2 separate regions of the Homo sapiens genome follow, and region 1 is linked to region 2. Evidence: promoter capture Hi-C in 16 types of primary human blood cells and fetal thymus (Javierre and others, 2016). All regions are on one chromosome and are shown on one strand. The core of a region is centred on a gene start or on the middle of the fragment in contact, and the rest is flanking DNA. Distances in the headings are between cores, read along the strand shown. Region 1 has its middle 72 kb from the start of CCNG2. Region 2 holds the start of SHROOM3 (shroom family member 3).

Region 1 (3,098 bases), core at 401-2,900, 790 kb before region 2:
TTTTAGAAAGCCTTGCATTTGGAAACTTATAGTTTTGGGTAACAGTTTTACTCTGCAACTCAAGTTTGGGTATTATATCCCAGTCGTACTGCTGCAATGGTGAAATAAAACCTCTCAATGCCAGAGGTAGTCCAGCATAAAAGAGGGCCTAATGTTAAAAGTTGAAGCCAGTGGAATATTGAAGTATTAGCCAGTGAAAGCCAAGTTACCTTTATGACTCATTTGGCTGAGTCCTACACCATGGCTACTCATGTATCTTATACATGTCTCCATCATTGGGTGCTTTTGAGTATGGCTATCTTTGGACCTGGACACTAGATCCCCTCCATTATGCTGTCTTTATGTTTACCCATATTCCCGGTAAGGATTTCAGGAGCCACCAAATCCTATTGATTACATCTCTTGTGTCCTTCAAATGTTTTTTGCATTTCCAATCCTGCCACCCTATTCCATTTCTCACCAAGACTTGGACACTCAAAATGGCTTCCCCTGCCCATGATTCCTGACATCTTTGTTTTCTAGAATGGCAAGTTTATAAAATTAAGTCTGATGACAAACACCTGCAAATCACCTGTAATTCTTAACAGCTTCCCTACTACATGTCAGGTCATGTCCAAAATCCTTGGCAAGACTAATGAGAATGTAACCTAGTGCCCAGCTTCCCCTCCCACTCTGCTAGGCTCAGCAAGTACAAGTCGGTGTCTGAAGCTTGGAGCCACACCATTAAGTTTCTGAGCATCTTGGGGAGCACATAGGGTGACCAGCCATGAAGGAAGATGACCGAAGGTGAGACAGTAACTTCTGAGCTGAAACCTAAAGCATAGTAAGAAGCCCCAACCCTAAAGCAATGTAGGGTGAAAAAACATGAACCATATCTAAAAATTCCCAAATTGGCCAGCAGCTCTAGAAGGTGGCCCATTGTAGCAGATGTGAGGATGACTGACCAAGCCCAGAGGCATGGGTGGCAGTGGTCTACAGAAGTTTCAGGAGAGATTAATCTATGTTAATGGGTGGAGGCAGGTGAAGAGGTAAATGGAATCCAACTCTTTTCAGTCTGTATCTAGTACACAGAATTCCCTCAGACAATTAGTCTGTGGTATGGATTGGAGTGGAATCCCCACCTATCAAGTCTTGGCTCCAAGGTATATCAGGAAACCTGGAGGATAATATCTGAAGAAAAGCCAAGATCCTAAATCTAGCTGTGCCCTTCATCTAGTGAAGATGCATCTCCCCCACCTCACAGATGGGCCCAGGCAGGACATGGGACTCAGGAGGTCCTAAGACTACCTGGGCAGGGAACAGTGAATACTCATGGGGGATGTACTTTAAGTGCTTCTATGCTTCTGCTCCCACTCCACCAGGACCATGCCATCCTGGCCTGTTGCTGTAAGGTCTAGGTGCCTTTTCCTAGGAAAGGGAACAAGAATGTCGTGCAGGCATATTAGCTTTTCTCCAGCCAAGTCTTTAGCAATAAGATGAGAGTTAGGAGTAAATCACAGCTTCTGTCACATGGTAGGCATACAAGTATACAAGCCTCATTTAACACACCTGACATGAAGAGGGAGCTACCTGGGGTGTGAGGGAAGTCTACTGTAAGTCTACCACGTTTCTTTCAACTCTGAGCCTTCAACTCTGAATCAGGCCTTCAAAGTCTCCAAAATGAAGTAAAAAGTAAGGTTTTAGTCATCTGGCAATTAACCAGTCAAATATACCTCCGTTTTACAACGACAAGCAGTTTAAGACATTCTACATCCAGAATCAAAGATTAAGACACCACCCTGGATACATTCTGCACAGACACTGCCCATGGTTGATGGGTACTTCATGTGGATCATCTCAACCTTCATCCCCTAGGGGTTCCCCAGCTTGAGTCTTCCCCTCAGAGGGAGGTAGAGAGTTGAGCCTGCCATCCCAAGGTCCTTCCTACTCTGGGGACTGAAATGTCCCACATCCATGGCAGCTGCCCCAGATCTGGCTGGGATCCCTATATTGAGGCTGTCTACTCCCACAGCTGATTTTACTCTGCCCTCCCCTGTGGATCATGCTATGAGACTAGTTTCCTCCAGGTGGCATAAGAATGGTTTACTCTCAGCCAATCTAAAAACCATATTGTAGGATTTTAGAAGAAAATGCCAAGAGACAGAACTAATGTGCAACTCCCACTTGGACAGAAAGAACAGTGTGGAGACTCACATCATGGGCTTTTACTCCAAGAGCCACTGCAGGAACATACCAGGAAAACAATTCAGACCCTTTGAAAGAAGCAGCTTGCTGCTGCAAAATCCATGAGACAGCCAAAAAACTGAGCTCCCAAAAGTGTGAGAGGGGGAGAAGCCTGCTTTCAAACACACATCCCCACTGAGGAACATGAAAACCCAGATCACAGGAGGAGGATTTAACCTTACCTAGAGCTGAAACTCATCTAGGGAGTGGAGTGAAATACGTAAGTAGAAGCAGCAACTAGAAGAGCCCTATAGGCACTCCCAATCCCCAGCTCAGGCCCAGGGAAGCCATTTCCTGGCCCTCTCACAGGGGTCCTTGGGGAAGGCAGCCAGTGAAATTGGAGAGGGGCCACAAGGTGAAGGAAGCTTCTAGCTGAAGTTTGTACTAAATTAAGCATAAATTTTCCTGAGCAGAATCCAGGGAGTTAAACAGGCAGTGCAGATACAAGTAGAAGCTACAGCCATTGGTTCATGAGCTGCCTGAGAGCCCTGCTTTCTCAGTGTAAAGGCTTATAGCCTGAGGCAAGATCTCAGCCCTGCACACCCGCTGCCTGGATATAAACTCAGTGCTGTTGGCAGGGCACAGCAGGAGCCAGAATGGCCTTGCCGGCTACATAGCAGCTGGGTGAGGCCTGTCACTACCAGCTTTCCCCCACTTCCCTGGAAACCTGTATGACACAGCAGAGGCAGCCATAATCCCCCCAGAAACAGATCCATTGGCCTGAAAACCACCCCCTATCCCCTCCCACAGTGGCTGCAGCAAGCCCCACCCCAGGAGTCTGAGCTCAGACTCACCTAGCCATGACCCCACCTGATTTTTTTCCTACCTGCTGTGATAACCAAAGAAACTCTTGGGAGCTCTATGGCCCCACCCAT
Region 2 (2,977 bases), core at 245-2,744:
GTTATGCTGAAAGCTGATTTAATTCTCCTTTCTGAGTGTGGGGAAAAAAAGCAACACATGGTATTTATGCAATCTATTATCCAGAATTATAAGCAAACTTAAAATATTTTTAGATGCTATTTTCAGTTGAAGAGAGAAAAAGCAGATATTTTTGAATGCACAAATATATACCATGCCACCATCTTAACCATGTTATTAATCTTTAATCTGATTTATAACTGAAAAGCTCATGTGGTAACTGATTGTATGCGATTTCATTCACAAAAAGAGAAGATTATCCATCAAACAGGCATATTTTTCTTCGGATTTCATAGAATAAATGAGCTAGACACATTTTTCTTTCAAATCCCAGGCTATCCAAAATATTTCTAGATAATCAGAAAGGCATGAAACAGCAAATTAAGTTATATTAAGGCAGTTCTCATTATTTTGCATTTTTGACAAATCTGACAAGTTGAAAAAAACAATTTGAATAAAGGCAATATTGGAAAAAGAAACATACCTTAGAGATGATTAATGGTTCTCCGTGCTCCAGGCCACCCTTTAGAGTAAAACCCCAGGGAGCTCCTCCCTCCAGGAATGCCTCCAGATAAATGTACCTTCCCTTGGTGGCCGTGTTAGAGTTTAATGTGGCACTAGGCTTGTGGAAGTCTTCAGTGGTCCTCATCATGCCAAACACATGATCCCTCAAGTTAAATTTAAAATGCCTGAAGCAAACTCAGGCAAGCAGTGCTTCTACAGCACAAGTTGTCCCATCCTTCAGGACACACAATGGCCAAAAGAGAGGTTTGGAGAAGCAAATTCTTCCATACGTAAAATGTTCTTCCAAGCTGAACTCCAAGATGCTGAACCAGAAGGAATTTTCACTTCAACATTTCTGAATGTAAATCCTCCTCCAGGAATTCTGGGTTCTCACTGAAGCCCCCAAGTGGTATACATCTCTACTCCGTTCGTCAAAACTTCCTTCAGTGGCGCTCTGAAGATTGCTTTTCTGAGCTTTTATTTCACACATACACACACTAAAACCATTTCTGCCTATTTTACAGAGAAAATTAAAAGCATCTTACAATATAGTAAGAAAATCACAAATACTCAAAGGAATACCTCATTTTTGATTGATTATCAACCCTTTCTTCCTCTCGGAGTGAAATTTACCATTACAATAGCCTCCTCCCTCCCCAGAAGTAGCTTAAAAAGAAAGAAAGCACTTACTATGCTTCGGCTCACTTCAGAATTTTCTAACTTGTCCCGAAGAGACAGAGAAGCTGTGCTAAAACTTTTTACTTCTTTTTTTCAACAATCAGTTCATAGTTTGTTTCTTAGGAGAGAAAAAAACTTTTGCAGGATGTAGAGAAAATGAAAAAGCACGGTAAATTAATCCTCAATGGAAAAAATATGAAGGAGGCAGCTCAGTTCTTTTCTTTGGTATTTTCAGTGATGATCAGCCACTGCTGCGGCCGCCACAGCCACTTGCCTCCTCTTGAGAGAAAGAGTAAGGAAGTTAGAGGAACATGGATTAAGGCAAAGTGAGGCATTGCAACCTTTCTGCACAGTAAGCACTGCCATGCAGAATTCAGCTCACCACAAAGACCTGACAATTCAAACAGTCTTACAGTTAATAACACGTAGGAAGTTAAAAATACTATACAGATGGCTAATTGCCAAGGGATAGAAAATAGTTCCTAGAATAGCCCCGCCTCGTACCAATTAAAGGAGAATTTCAGGGAGTGAGACATAGGCATTTGTGTTTTTAAAAACCCTCCAGGCAATTCTGCTATGCAGCCAAGTTTGAGAAGCAATGCCTAAGTGATTTGGGTAAACGTTTAAGTACATGTCAAGGTGGTGGCACAAGGGCTTTTTTTTTTTCGTTAGAAGAAAATACTACCAGTGTAATATATGAAATGGGACTTTCCAATCAAAGTTCTGCTTGTTTGACTCAATAAAAACAGGAGGTGGGTTTTTTTTTCTAGGTTTTCATTGTTATCTACTCCAAGATTGTTATCCACTCTTTAAATGAAAAGAAATCTACAATGCCTTGTGGGTAAGTACTAGGTACTCGGGAAAGAATGTTGTTCTGATTTCATGTTACCAGTGTCATTTTGTAATAATGTTATATACAAATTTAACATTCATGCTTTGTATTAAAAATTTGAACAGTAGAAGATAACCATATCTAACCCAGAAGCCTCAGCTATTTAGTTATTGGAACAGATTAGAATTACTTCCAGGTAATATATGTACTAAAACTTTTTTCTGTTTAAAAGTATGGGATAATGAGAATTAAGTTGAAAACTGAAGTTAAAAACTACTGTGGGGCTTGATAACAATTATTTTGGTGTTTGTACTTATAATTAATGAAAGGCTGATATGGAAAGGCAGGTATATGATATCAAACTACACGATATTTAATTTACAACACTGGACAGGTATTGTTTGATTTTCAATGGTAACTTCACTTGAAGGGCTCAAAGACAAAAAAAAAAAAAAAAAAGTAAAACCTTATGTAATGGTAGTATGTGAATGGAAACATAAGGAAACCTAAGGTGTACCAAATGAAAGTATGTGGTAAAAATTGGCTGATTCTTAAGGGTAATTTACGCAATTTCTATTGTGGTTTTCTTTTACAGCTTAATTTGTAAGTTAGAATAAATGGAGAAACATTAGCTTTTCTTTCATTTCAAAGAACATATGTATTTTAAATAAAAGTCCTAGGTAAATGAACAGCTTTCTTTCTGAAAAAATTAATTTATGAGGCTCTTATTATGTTACTCCTAATACATTTTGTAAAAACTGGGATTTTACAGAATCCACATTTAATATTAAAAGTAACATAGCTATACAAAATTTCAGTTAGGAGGCATAAGCTCAAGAGATCTATTGTACAGCATGATGACCATAGTTATAACAATGTATTGTATATTTGGAAATTGCTAAGATTAGATTTTAAGTGCTCTCACCACAAAAAAAATTAGTATGT

Evidence for each region. The method cuts DNA at HindIII sites, captures the fragments that hold promoters and counts their contacts. A CHiCAGO score of 5 or more calls a contact.
Region 1: a contact is called between a fragment that was not itself captured here and the fragment with the promoter of SHROOM3 in region 2, in 1 of 17 cell types (naive CD8 T cells). The highest score is 6.0, in naive CD8 T cells.

The regions. Positions count from the first base shown.
Region 1 is chr4:77,227,159-77,230,256 of GRCh38, reverse strand. No RefSeq gene overlaps it. Among named protein-coding and RNA genes, the nearest start is that of CCNG2, 72 kb to the right of the region's middle. The HindIII fragment of the contact is 1,880 bases long and covers 711-2,590 here.
Region 2 is chr4:76,433,746-76,436,722 of GRCh38, reverse strand. It overlaps SHROOM3 (shroom family member 3), which reads right to left and starts at 1,494. Exons shown (of 11, transcript NM_020859.4): 1 at 503-1,494. The coding sequence starts at 670. The HindIII fragment of the contact is 11,529 bases long and covers 1-2,977 here.